Regions from separate parts of the Homo sapiens genome. Here region 1 is linked to region 2. Evidence: promoter capture Hi-C in human tissues and cell types (Jung and others, 2019). All regions are on one chromosome and are shown on one strand. The core of a region is centred on a gene start or on the middle of the fragment in contact, and the rest is flanking DNA. Distances in the headings are between cores, read along the strand shown.

Evidence for each region. Contacts are between HindIII fragments. The study calls those that stand out against the background at their distance.
Region 1: a fragment that was not itself captured here is called in contact with the fragment with the promoter of KRTAP13-4 in region 2 in 2 of the 25 tissues and cell types used here (dorsolateral prefrontal cortex and mesendoderm cells).

Annotation. Positions count from the first base shown.
Region 1 is chr21:30,361,904-30,369,491 of GRCh38, forward strand. No RefSeq gene overlaps it. Among named protein-coding and RNA genes, the nearest start is that of KRTAP13-2, 6.6 kb to the right of the region's middle. The HindIII fragment of the contact is 3,695 bases long and covers 1,539-5,233 here.
Region 2 is chr21:30,427,105-30,434,578 of GRCh38, forward strand. KRTAP13-4 (keratin associated protein 13-4) reads left to right here and starts at 3,116. Exons shown (of 1, transcript NM_181600.3): 1 at 3,116-3,922. The coding sequence starts at 3,172. The coding sequence ends at 3,654. All of the region lies in intron 3 of LOC105372772 (a long non-coding RNA gene), which reads right to left. The HindIII fragment of the contact is 9,351 bases long and covers 1-7,474 here.

The sequences.
Region 1 (7,588 bases), core at 2,136-4,635, 65 kb before region 2:
AAACACTAATGAAAGAAATCATAGATGATACAAACAAATGGAAGAGCATCCTATACTCATGGATTGGCAAAATCAGTATCATTAAAATGACCTTACTGCCCAAAGCAACCTACAGATTCAGTGCAATTCCTATCAAATAACAACATCATTTTAATAGAATTATGAAACCTAAACTTCATGTGGAATCAAAAAAGAGCCCCAATATCCAAAGCAATCCTAAGTAAAAAGAACAAAGCTGGGTCATCACATTTCTTGATTTTAAATTATACTACAAGGCTATAATAAACACAACAGCATAGTACTGTATAAAACTAGACAAATAGATCAATGGATCAGAATAGAGAACACAGAAATAAAGCCAAATACCTAAAATCAACTGATCTTTGACAAAGTCAACAAAAATATACACAAGGGAAAGGACACCCTGTTCAATAAATGGTGCTAGGGAAACTGGATTGTCATATGCAGAAGAATGAAATTGAATCCATATCTTTCACTGTATACAAAAATTAACTCAAAATGGATTAAAAACTTAAATGTAATATCTGAAACTATAAAAACCCCAGAAGAAAATGTAGGAAATCTCTTCTAGACATTGACCTAGGCAAAGAATTTATGACTAAGACCGCAAAAGCAAATGCAACAAAAACAAAAATAGACCAATGGGACTTAATTAAACTGAAAAGCTTCTGCACTCCTAAAGAAACTGTCAACAGAGTAAACAGACAACTTACAGAATGGGAGAAAATATTTGAAAACTATGTGTCCACAAAAAGACTAATATCTAGAATCTACAAGAAGCTCAAACAACTCAACAAGAAAAAAAAAAAAACCACTATCAAAAAGTGGGCAAAGGACATGAACAGACATTTTTCCAAAGAAGACATACAAGCAGCCAACAAACGTGGAAAAATTCTCAACATCATTAATCATTAGAGAAATGCAAATTAGAACCACATTAAGATACCATCTTACAGTAATAAGAATGGTTATTAAAAAGTCAAAAAACAACAGATGTTGGCAAGGATGCAGAGAAAAGGGAACACTGTTGGTAGGAATGTAAATTAGTACAAACTTTATGGAAAACAGTATGAAGATTCCTCAAAGAGCTGAGAATAGAACACCATTTGATCTAGCAATCCCATTATTGGGTGTCTACACAAAGAAAAAGAAATTGTTATATATATTAAAATCCCCTGCACTGGTATGGTTATCATAACACTATTCACCATTGCAAAGTCATGGAATCAGCCAAAGTGTCCATCAATGAATGACTGAATTTTAAAAAGTGATATATAAATGCAATGTGATACTACTCAGCCATAAAAAAGAATAAAATTGTGTCTTTTGCAGCAAAATAGATGGAAATGGAAGCCATTATCCTAAGTGAAATGACTAAGAAACAGAGTCAAATACCACATGCTCTCACTTATTATTGCGAGCTAAACAATGTGTATACCTGGATATACAGAGTGGAATAATTGACTTTGGAGACTCCAAAAGTTGGGAGATTGGGAGAGGGGTGAGGGATGAAAAATTACCTACAATATAAACTATCTGAGTGATGGATATACTAAAAGCCTGGAGTTCACACTACGTAATATATTCATGTAACAAAACTGCATGTTTACCCTTAAATCTATAAAAATAAAATAAAATAGAACTTTAGAACAGAAGAGTTTCCATACATCAATAACTGCATCTTCTCACTTTAGTTAACAGACTTTAGTATTCTTATACTAATCTTCCAGAAATGCCAACTAAAAACCTTATAACACATCTTACTAATGAATAATCTACTTATGTTCTCCACACGTGACTAACTTTTGTTAAACTTAAAAAAAAAATCATAGGCTCACATGAAGTTGTACAAATAGTACCTAGAGTCCCTTCACACAGCCTCCTGCAATATTGCCAACTTATTTAACCATACTACAAAATCAAACCTAGGAAATTGACACTGGTGCCATGTTGTTCGCTAGACTACAGACCTTATTGAGTTTTGCTGGTTTATACATGTACTCATTTGTGTTTGTATCTGTATGGTTCAATGTAATTTATCTAATGTATAGATTAGTGTAACCACTACCACAGTCCAGAAGAAAAATTCTTCCATTTATGATTAACATTTTTTCTTTTTTTTTTAGAGACAGGGTCTTGCTTTGCTGCCTAGGCTGGATTGCAATGGTGCAATCAATAGCTCATTGCAGCCTGGAACTCCTGGCTTCAATACTCCCGCCTCAGCTTCCCAAGGAGCTGGGACTACAGGCATGCACCATGTGTATGAATTACAATGTTCATGTAATGAGGCAGAAATATGAGCCACATATTTTGTCCTTTTATATTTATAAAATGTTTAATTTAGTTATATATGAAATTAAAAATGGAAGCTTGTGTTTTCTAGACAACAACACTAGACAGTAATGCAGCATTTGAGGTGAGTGGTGCAAGTGGTGGTATAGAGCAGAAAGAAAGATCAAGTCAAAATACGACACATTTATGTAATTATGTCATTTTTTCCCCAAGTCACAAGTAGAAGCAGTGCCATTAGAAATGTCAAAATTTTGGATGAACCTGGAGGACATCATGCTAAGAGAAATAAGCCAGACACAGAAAGGAAAATACTACATGATGTCATGTATGTAGAAATCGAAACTAGTTAAACTCACAAAAGCAGAGACTAGACTGGTAGCTGTCAGGGCCTGGGCGGAGGGTAAATTGGGAGGGTGTTGGTCAAAGGGTAAAAAGTTTCAGTTATGCAGGACAATTAAGTTCTGGATATCTAATGTATAGCAATGTGACTGTAGTTAACAATATTGTATCGTATACTTAAAATTTGCAGAAAGGGTAGACCTCAGTGTTCTTGCCATAGTCAAATGATCAATCAAATGGAAACTGAAATTATAACTATATTAATTACCTTGACTGTGACAATTTCACAATATGTGTATATATTATATACAGTGTGTGTATCTCAAAACATCAATTTTTACTCCTTAAATTTATATAATTTTTGTAGACTATACCTCAGTAAAGATGAGAAAAAGAAAAAAGGCATAAATTGATAAGGTAAAGTAATTCTTTCCAGGAAATGATATGCATAATTTCTTTTCCTCCTCAGTTTCCATATTAAAGGAAAAATGATATTCAGACTTTTGTAGCACATCTGTTACTAAGTTTTACAATTAACATTACTGATTTCACATACTGTTGTCAGAAAAAATTGTGGGATTTTGAAATGGGGGAAATGTATTACTATGTGGCCTGTCTAGTTCATTTTTCAAGGTATTGTCACGTATTATTGCTTTTTAACTCCTATATAATTCTGTAAGTTGAATAAAATTGTTAATAATGCAAATGATTCTAGTCCATAGAAATGAAATAGTTTCTGTCAAGTGGAATGATACTGATTTTTACTCTGCGTACAGCACTACTTTGCATCTATCTGTGGATTCATTTCAAACTTCCTAACAACCTGTCTAAGTGTTCTCTGAATTATGCTTTGAACCAGTTGTAGCATCTTAGTGGTCCCCACATTTATTAATGAGTTAAATAAAAATTTTTATATGTGTTGATTTTTTCATTTGTGTAAGAATTGTGACTTTACCTTTTTAAAAATTTATCTTAATACTATTATGTTTTATATTGTATCACATTTTAAACGTTTGCCTTCCCTTTCTTTAAGTTCCAGGGAAGCAGCATGCAAGACATAGTGAGAAAAAAAAAGAAAATAAAAATAGTTGGAGATCAACAGAGATGAGATATTAGGATTGGATTAACCATGAATGATTTCTTTTGAACAGCTGGATAGAGAATTCTGGACTTGAACAGTAGATACCTGATGTTTTCTTAATTCATACTGTGGTGCCTCTCAAGTAATAGTCTGCAACCCTGAGCTTCTGCTTGTTAATACTTTATTAGACTGCTAATTGTAACTAAGTCTCCAGTTACATAAACTTTGATATCTAAGAATAACATGAGCCCCCCAAAACCACTCCCACATATGAAATGTGAAGTTTATTTTTTTAATTGTTTATCGTTGACATCTTGCCACCCCAGACACAAAGCTGAGGCCCTCTATGGCATCCGTGTTGTTTCCGTCTCTATTTCTGGATTTGTAGAATTGGACAATCACACTTACTTATTATTATGTAGTCTTCTACCTCTTGCTGACCACATTTCCCAGTTTAATAAAAAAGGAACTTGTAGTTTTGTCCCCGAAACCCACACTGTATTCTTCCAAGCAATTATGCCACCGCTTACGCAGTTTCCTCTTGCTGGCGCTCTCTTCTCACGCATCCTTCACACCAAAATCATAGGAGGAAATTTGTCTCTCTCACTAGTGAGAGACATGAGTCTAGTGACATTGGTCTTTTCTAAGCTCTCAGCACTTTTCACAGAAGAGCTCTAGTGCAAAGTTAAAGCTCAAACACATCTAGTGAGCTGAATTAGAACAAAGAGCTGATGTCACTTGGTATATTAAGGTCATTAGGAGTGGAATAATTATAAGTGAGCTTGAAAGCAACTTATCTTTTCCACTCTGCTTTTTCTTAGCCAGTGATGGGAGTCAGCCTTCCATTACACTCTCTGTTACCCTCATACAACTTAGGCGTTGACCCACAGTTACCAGGTGCCTAACTTGACAGCACCCTAAAGGGTGAGTGTGGAGAGGAGCAGAGTGTACATAAAAACTGAAAAATCACAGAGAGAAGGAGAGAAAGAAGAAAAGCAAAGAGAAAAGGTGAGAGAGGAAAATAAAAAATAGTTGGAGATTAGCAGAGATGAGATATTAAGGGAAGATTATTCATGCAGAAAATGGAGGAGGCAAAGAATATTTATTTTGTCTGATCCCTGAAATCTGAATCTTCACATTATACTTTGAAAGGTTTAAATATTGAAAGTATTCCAATGTGTTAATTTTCTCCTTTACTCTCTGCCTCCCTGTCTCAATTGTTTGCATTCCACTTAAAGATTGCATTAGAATGGTGGAGATTCTTCAAGTCACTACAGAACTAGATTCTCTATGTCACTGGACACCCCTTCCTTCTATCTTGGGATTGCTGCATTTTAAACATTTCTCTGTGCTCAGATGTCTCCTTGCAAGGCCTGGTGCCTTCCACACTTGAAGTTATGAGCCTCTAGCTCCCAGGACTTTCTTACTGTCCATGCTACTGTGACCCCTTTAGTTTGTTTTCTCAAATGATTTTTTTTAATCCACATTTTACTCATTCCGCATTATTTAAAGATGAATTAGTAGTCCACCTTCAATGCTAATGGCATAATTCAGACTCATAGGACCTTTATGTCTAATAAAAATTTTTAATTACCTATTTACACCAAAGTCAATGAGTAGCTCTGCACTTGATGACATATTTTTTTTTTTTTTTTTGAGTCAGAGTCTCACACTGTCACCTAGGCTGGAGTGCAATGGTGCAATCTTGGCTCACTACAACCTCCGCCTCCCAGGTTCAAGTGATTCTCCTGCCTCAGCCTCCCAAGTAGCTGGGATTACAGGCACCAGCCACCATGCCTGGCTAATTTTTTGTATTTTTAGTAGAGCCGGGGTTTCGCTATGTTGGCCAAGCTGGTCTCAAACTCCTGACCTTGTGATCCACCCACGTTGGCCTCCCAAAGTGCTGGGATTACAGGCATGAGCCACCATGCCCTGCCCAACGATACATTTTGTTTGTTTGTTTGTTTGTTTGTTTGTTTTTAATTATACTTTAAGTTCTAGGGTACATGTGCACAACGTGCAGGTTTGTTACATATGTATACATGTGCCATGTTGGTGTGCTGCACCCATTAACTTGTCATTTATATTAGGTATATCTCCTAATGTTATCCCTTCCCCCTCCCCCCACCCCACAACAGGCCCCGGTGTGTGATGTTCCCCTTCCTGTGTCCAAGTGTTCTCATTGTTCAGTTCCCACCTATGAGTGAGAATATGTGGTGTTTGGTTTTTTGTCCTTGCGATAGTTTGCTGAGAATGATGGTTTCCAGCTTCCTCCATGTCCCTACAAAGGACATGAACTCATCATTTTTTATGGCTGCATAGTATTCCATGGTGTATATGTGCCACATTTTCTTAATCCAGTCTATCATTGTTGGACATTTGGGTTGGTTCCAAGTCTTTGCTATTGTGAATAGTGCCGCAATAAATATATGTGTGCATGTGTCTTTATAGCAGCATGATTTATAATCCTGCGGGTATATACCCAGTAATGGGATGGCTGGGTCAAATGGTATTTCTAGTTCTAGATCCCTGAGGAATCACCACACTGTCTTCCACAATGGTTGAACTAGTTTACTGTCCCACCAACAGTGTAAAAGTGTTCCTATTTCTCCACATCCTCTCCAGCACCTGTTGTTTCCTGACTTTTTAATGATTGCCATTCTAACTGGTGTGAGATGGTATCTCATTGTGGTTTTGATTTGCATTTCTCTGATGGCCAGTGATGATGAGCATTTTTTCATGTGTCTGTTGGCTGCATAAATGTCTTCTTTTGAGAAGTGTCTGTTCATATCCTTCGCCCACTTTTTGATGGGGTTGTTTGTTTTTTTTCTCATAAATTTGTTGGAGTTCTTTGTAGATTCTGGATATTAGCCCTTTGTCAGATGAGTAGATTGCAAAAATTTTCTCCCATTCTGTAGGTTGCCTGTTCACTCTGATGGTAGTTTCTTTTGCTGTGCAGAAGCTCTTTTGTTTAATTAGATCCCATTTGTCAATTTTGGCTTTTGTTGCCATTGCTTTTGGTGTTTTAGACATGAAGTCCTTGCCCATGCCTATGTCCTGAATGGTATTGACTAGGTTTTCTTCTAGGGTTTTTATGATTTTAGGTCTAACATTTAAGTCTTTAATCCATCTTGAATTAATTTTTGTGTAAGGTGTAAGGAAGGGATCCAGTTTCAGCTTTCTACATATGGCTAGCCAGTTTTCCCAGCAACATTTACTAAATAGGGAATCCTTTCCCCGTTGCTTGTTTTTCTCAGGTTTGTCAAAGATCAGATAGTTGTAGATATGTGACATTATTTCTGAGGGCTCTGTTCCATTCCACTGATCTATATCTCTGTTTTGGTACTGGTACCATGCTGTTTTGGTTACTGTAGCCTTGTGGTATAGTTTGAAGTCAGGTAGCATGATGCTTCCAGCTTTGTTCTTTTGGCTTAGGATTGACTTGGCAATGCAGGCTCTTTTTTGGTTCCATATGAACTTTAAAGTAGTGTTTTCCAATTCTGTGAAGAAAGTCATTGGTAGCTTGATTGGGATGGCATTGAATCTATAAATTACCTTGGGCAGTATGGCCATTTTCACGATATTGATTCTTCCTACCCATGAGCATGGAATGTTCTTCCATTTGTTTGTATCCTCTTTTATTTCATTTAGCAGTGGTTTGTAGTTCTCCTTGAAGAGGTCCTTCACATTCCTTGTCAGTTTTATTCCTAGGTATTTTATTCCTTTGTAGCAATTGTGAAGGGGAGTTCACTCATGATTTGGCTCCCTGTTAGTCTGTTATTGGTGTATAGGAATGCTTGTGATTTTTGCACATTGATTTTGTATCCTGAGACTTTGCTGAAGTTGCTTATCAGC
Region 2 (7,474 bases), core at 1,866-4,365:
CTGTAAATATTTAATCTTGTTTATACTTTTTAAAAAGTGATACTGTTTGGATTTGTGTCCCTGCCCAAATCTCAGGCCAAATTGTAATCCCCAGTGTTGGGGAAGGCCTGGTGGGAGATGATTGGATCATGGGGGTGGATTTCCCCCTTGCTGTTCTCGTGCTAGTGAGTTAGCTCTCATGAGATCTGGTTGTTTAAAAATGTGTAGCACTTCCCCCTTCACTCTTTCTACTGCTTCCCTTGTAGGACTGCCTGCTTCTCCTTCATTTTCTGCCATGATTGTAAGTTCCCTGAAGCCTCCCCAGCCGTGCTTCGTGTACAGCCTGCAGAACTGTGAGTCAATTAAACCTCTTCTCTTTATAAATTACCCAGTCACAGGTAGTAGTTTATAGCAGTGTGAGAATAGACTAATACAAAAAGTAAACCAATTTTTTGAAGGATAGCAAAAAATTTAAACTGAACATTTTATCTTGAGTATGCCAATCAGGGTAAACAAAAAAAAAATTATTTCAGTTGTTCAATGATTTAGAGAAACAATAAACAAACTTTTGAGTTTAGTTTTGGAGCTTATGTTCAGACTGTCTCCAGGTAATATCTGCTAAAACTCATTTTTTCAGCCATCTCCACCTTAGTTAGACTAGATCTACACCATTCTCCTATTATTTCACGTGTGAGTTGATGTCTTTTATCAAGATTGGTAAATTCCCAACTGTACTCTCTTCAAATATTGCTTCTGCCCCATCCTCTCATCTTTCTTTTGCTTAGATTCCAATTATAAGCAAGGTACACTTTTTAACTACATTACATATGGCTTATACTCTTTTTTCTATTTTCAATCTTTATATAGAAGTATTGGCTTTTGCTTATTGAGGTTGTAACCTGGATGGTTAGTGAAAGCAAGATTTTCCAGCATGTTAGTGACAAGTTGCCTGGTTATTTTGAAAAGAGAAGCAGGTAGGTGCCAAACGTTGTAATTTTCAACTATGGATGAGATTCTGTTGAAAACATATCTCAAATATCCAAAGCCATTATTCATAGCCCAGTGAAGAGAATCATCTGTCAAAAGATCAGAAGCCTTTTGATGTATATCCCTGAGCCATATATTTTATGTGAAAGATCTCAATTTTTAATTGTTGATAAATAATTCAGTCAAAAAAAGAAACAACAATGATGAGGCTCCATATTAAACAGAACAAATAATATGATCTCCAAGATGAAGTGAGTCCAAAGTTGTGGCATTTACAAGTTCTTCTTAAACTTCTATCAAATTAATGTGGACAAAGTTTTAGAGATTTAGAGGCAGAGAGAAGGGAAGAACACCTCTTTTCACAATAACTGGTTCAGAGAAGGATTTTTGAATAAGGAGCCTGGATTAACTGAAGACAAATTCACTAAATCCCTTAGTTTTGCCTGAATAAATTCATGCTCTCCATTTAACTCATAAGTTTTGTATTCAAGATTATTTTAAAGAGTTACATTTGAAACAAAAGAAAATGGGGAAGGAATAGTTTCCAAACCTACTTACTAAGGTACAAGGTTAGGGGAAATCAACTGCCATTGAAAAATAGAAAGTAACTCACTGAATAGATATTTGAATTGGCCATATTTGCTTCTTTCTTCATTCTTCCTTCTGGAAGGCCTATATTAAGTTACTTTTCAATATTGCCATACATTTTAATTGAGAAAATTTAATCGAGAAAATGTCTAACATTATTGTTGTAAGTTTATTATATTTTATTATAAAATAAAATGTCATCAACCATGACAGTACACTTTCTTTGGTCCTGAATATAATTTAACTACTTGTATTTCAACATAGAATATTTTGTGAATGAACTTACAAAGTGGCTATCCTCAAAGAATACGACAAAGCTGTCCAATTTTTATTTTTCAACATGGAATCTATAATTCAGCAGAGGCAAACAAACACATGAACAAAACATAAAATATAACAAGTAAAAAAAAGAAAAAAGATAAAATCAAACTTAAGCACAGAAAAAAGAAAGAAAAATAGAGGGAAAGAAAGTCAGAGGAAGAGAGAGAGAAAATAAGAGAGAAACATTCATATACCATGCAGAGGAAAAGAGGACTGGGGAACAAAGAAACTTCACATTTTCACAGGAAAATGTAGGATGGTACCTGGTTCTACAAGTGGCAAAAAGACACTGAAAGCCAGTAATATGGAAAGCTAGAGCCATTCTAAGAAGGTAGAAGTCCTGTATAATTACAAAAGTAGATGATAAATATATCAAAGTTCATAAGATTTGCTAATTTTGAAAATTTTTGCTCATAAAGACATTGAGACAAGACACATGACAGCTGGAATGCAATAGGAAAAAAAATTCTGAAATTCCTGAGCTTTCTCTTTGTTTCTCTTTCACTTGTTTCCTCCCTTCAGCAGACAAGCATTCGGGCTCTTTGGCTGAAGAGACATGACCTCAAATTGATCTTCTCTGTGACTGTGTTTCAATCGAGCTTCTTTTTGTTATCTCGTCTTTAAATAAATGGCAAGGTTTCTTTCAATTTCTAGCCATTTCTTTCTATCTCTTTGCTTTGCCTGTTCTTGATCTTTCTTCACTGGATATGAGACAGACTTTATAACTGTAGTACTTAATGTATTAATTTACTCTTACCGCCCTAAAAAATCACCACAAAGTAATTTTGGAGTATAGCAATCAATGGTGACAAGATGGATCATTTTCACAAAGGTTCTCATCCAGGTGGAAATTGCACCAGAAAGAAACTAACGTTATCTCATTCCCCACTCTTAAGAGGAAAACATCTACTAGCAAAGCCAGATGTGAATACACAGGAAAAGAGGCAGTTAGCATGTGCCAAAGAAATAGGAAGAGCTTTCCTTGTCATGATGAGCTAGACATTAATATAAAACAGTCATAGCATTTCTGACATAAGTACAGTTCATTGGCTTTGTGCTATAACACGAAAATTATAGCACCCATAAATACAATACATGGAAAACTATTCAAATGCAATTACAGACAAGATTACGCAGTTACACATATGTAAATGAGGGATCACAAATATGTAAAGGATGACCCTGTTGGGCACCACACCTATTGCTGAGAGGATATAAATGCCCTTGTCCAGGATGCGACATTAAAACTCAGAATCTTCTTAGGTACACTCAGCTGAACTCCCATCTCTCATCAGCATGTCCTACAACTGCTGCTCTAGAAACTTCTCCTCCCGCTCCTTTGGGGGCTACCTGTACTACCCAGGCTCCTACCCCAGCAGCCTGGTCTACAGCACTGCCCTCTGCTCTCCCAGCACCTGCCAGCTGCGTTCCTCTCTCTACAGGGACTGTCAGAAGACCTGCTGGGAGCCCGCCAGCTGCCAGAAATCCTGCTACCGCCCCAGGACCTCCATCCTCTGCTGTCCCTGTCAGACGACTTGCTCTGGATCTCTAGGCTTTCGGTCCAGCAGCTGTCGCTCCCAGGGCTATGGATCTAGGTGCTGCTACTCGCTGGGAAATGGATCCAGTGGCTTCAGATTCCTGAAATATGGAGGCTGTGGTTTTCCTTCCCTGAGTTACGGATCCAGATTCTGCTACCCAAACTACTTGGCTTCTGGAGCCTGGCAGTCTTCTTGTTACAGACCAATCTGTGGATCTCGCTTCTATCAATTCACCTGCTAAATTTCTAGATCCTTTTGAGTATTGGGATCAAAGTCTCTACTGAATGCAGCCATTATTTTCATTCTTGCCAGATCCCAATATCTTTTTATTCTTCCACCACCAGCTTCTTGCATGACCAACTTCTGGCAGACTGCGAAATTAATGAGTAACCTAATATTAACTTCTAATATCTTTACCATTGATCGAATATATGCTATCTGATTTTCATCCAAAAACTGTTGAAAATGGAAATTTTAATCTAATAAATGTATGTAATCTGGTACCCAAATATATTGTTCACATTGTTATTATTTTATTATTATTATTTTGCTTACATTTTTGCATTCAAGAATTTGGGAGATTTAAGTAAAAATCAATATGACTGTGTAACTGGATTTGGGGCCCATATAATCTGACAGATCTGAGAACATTTCTCTTGAAATTAGGTATGTTGTCTATTAAGAGTAATCATTTCTGGAAGAACATAGTTTGCATCTGCAGACTTGTCTCAACAGCAGTGAGAATTGTCTAAGAATGAAGGACATGCATTTCTACTGATATAGGAAAGCAGAAAATTTGATGCATAAACTAGAAATGCAGACAACAAGACTAGGATGTAATTTATAAGGTAAACTGTATGCTTGCACTAAAGGTTACTTAAAGTCTAGTATCTGAATGTGGATTTTCAACCAAGAGAAAAGTGAAGCTTAAGCACTGCTAGGACAGACGCTTTGCTCTTTGTTAGTAGACTTAAGTGCCAGGTTTCCTGCCTCCCACTGGTAAGGAGAGTCAGGATCATTCACCAATGATCTTAAGTGGGAATTATTGGGTCCAGGAGGCTTCGGTAACCTACCGATGCTTCTTCAAGGCTCAACCTTAATCAAGCTGACAGCAACACACCTGAGCCATGCTGAACAAGCATTTATATCCATTAGTCTTACTCTGGATCCTCCTCTTCTCCCCAGAACAAGGCTAATGTCAAAGATTTGGGTGCAAACAGTTTATGTGGCACAAGATCCCAGGAAGCAAGTATGAGACACTATGGAAGATGAAAGAATCAAAGAGGAAAATCTAAAGAAAGGGTGCATTTTCGAGTTTATTTTATGGAGAGCAACTTGGCTAAATCTTGTAAGGACCTTTTAGGAGCATGTAGAATGACTCTTGGAATTGTCCCCCACAGGATCAGATCAACATGGAAAAACATTTATCCATCCGCTTCTTTCTCCCATTGGCTGAACAATATCCAAGATGTGTAATTTTCAGGAACCTTATAATTATGCAAGGAAAGAATCACAGTGGGCACCTTCTGTTTTCCTAGTTGTGACCTGGAAGAAACCCAGGTACAGTAAAAGTGGCGTTGCATATGACTGAGGGCAGATGTTGTCCACACAAAGGTGGTTGAAGCCAACATAAAATGGTTTGCATTGCTATGCTTGTGGTCATAGGTGAGTGTATACCACACAAGAAGGCAAAAGAGTTATCAGGTAACAGATTTTCCCTTAATACTTAACATCCCTGTGAGAAAGACAAATACTGTATACTATAGACCTTTACAGGCATGGGGGAATGGAAACTCTAAAAGGATTTAAAACTGGCCAAGGCTTACAGATCAAAGACCTGGTAGAATATGATCTCTTGAATGAATCTTGTTTTGTTACTCTTTTCTGGTTTTTCTTTTCTTTTTATTAAAAAATACAACTCCTAGTTCAACCAAGGAACACTTAGTATTTCTAGTAGTACAGAAATACTGCAGAATTACTATTCATCTAAATGGAGATGATCCACTATTGGATTTATTTGTGTAGCCTCATGAGTAGTATCAGTAATAAAGAATGAAAATACAAATAAATTTAGAGTTTAGGAGAAGAGCTCCAAAGAAGGTAAACTAATTTATTTAAATAACATTTTAACGGTTATAACAAATAGTAGAGTAATAGAAAAATAATCAATGGCATCTCAGGAAGAAAATGTTATGAATTCTGAGTTCTATGACATATCTTAACATTTTAATTATTATCATGAGTGTAACTTAGTTTTTTCAGATTTAGGATCCAAGATGATAGATATAAAGTTCTGCCTTCAATAATACCAAGCATTATGAACAAGAATGGTGAAATTGCAGACTCTTGCAACATCTCACTAATAACGTAAATCAGATTCCCATTTTGGTGAGATTGGACTGAAGGGGGATGGAATCAATCAGAGTGAATTCATGGCAATGTTCTTGAGTAAACTAATAATATAGAATGCAGAAGCAGCATACAATGTGTAAAAAATATTGATAAACATAAGGAAATTCCTTTCATTTACTTTTCTGTATAAAACAATACAAATTATTGCTTAAAATAAATGAAACAAGAGCTCAAAGATAATACAGTAGAAAAACGTGAACATGGTGATTAACAAGGTAAGGAAAAGTATTGATTGCCAGTACAATTTAGAGTATATACAAAGTGTTTTAAAATTTTTCAAATTATATCTTCTACTTTTATTGATAGAATATTGCAGCTTATTCGGATACAAAGTGAGTTATGTATTCACCACAATTAAAAATGTGCGTCTTCTCCACAGGACTCTTATTTTCTTTACCATGATGTCCTTACCAAAATTTGTACTTTTTATCATTATGGATACAACAGATAATCTCATCTTCAATGTTGAACTTTTAAAATAACTTTACATTAGCTTTATCAAACAGAACATTATGAACTTTTTATAGCTTTACTCTTTTGGGGGGGCTAGGCGAAGAAATCAAAACATTATTGGAATTAATTTATTTTCTGTTTGAAGCATTTGACAGTTCTAATATAAAACTGAATTCATTTAATCCCTAGTGATTTGTTTTTCCTGCTACTGGAGGGGCATGTCATTAACTATTGGTTCAATTATTTTCTGTACATGCACAAGAATATGTATAATTTAACACGAGTGAAAATGACTTAAAACAGTTATTTGACCTAAATGAAAATGTCTGTATCAGGGTGATGTATTGACACACTTTTTGCAACTGTTAATAGTAAATAATCATCTTAGGACTTGGTCTTCTTAAACATTTTTCTGTCTTTTGAAGTAGATACTGATGTATCTTCAGTAAAACTATGTCTTTCACTTTTCATGTGGTCAATGATATCACCTACTCTCATGTTGAATAATAAATATCATCAAATTGTTGTACAAGTTCATGCAGTCACCATCAACCGGATTTAGTGGTAGAAATTCAGAACCCAACTTTTGTTTTTTTCATTAAAAAATGAGCTTTTATTTTTGGCTTATTTTCCTTTTCTTCTATCTACAAAATTTAAAGAAGAAAAGTGTTACCGAATAATAAAAAATAGTTGTAGATTTAAAAAATACAAGACATGGCCAAATCACTGTAGCAAGAGCATTTAGATTATCCTTTATCTGTGGCTTTGTGGCAGTCAAAATTTCATGCCCATACTTCACGTGCACCTAGCCAGCAATTCTCAAATTTCCCACTAACTCCACCTACTGTTGGCTTGAGAGTATTGCCGCGTCTTGCAGCTGTGGAATGGGCCATCGCACTACCGGCTAGGTCTGAACAACAAATGACCCACCCCCAAGACTTGAACGAGTAGGCTGACCTATCACTTGTATGTAAGTGTAATTTGTTTCTCAAATGCTCTGTCTGCATGTTCTCTTTGCAAGAAAAGTTATAGTTTTTAGCGGGGTGTGGTGGTGTGTGCTTCTAGTCCTAGCTACTTGGGAGGCTGAGGTGGGAGGATAGTTTGAGCCTGGGAGGTGAAGGTTGCAGTGAACGGAGATTGTGCCACTGCAATCCAGCCTGAACCATAGCACCGCAAGTTATCTCAACAACAACAAC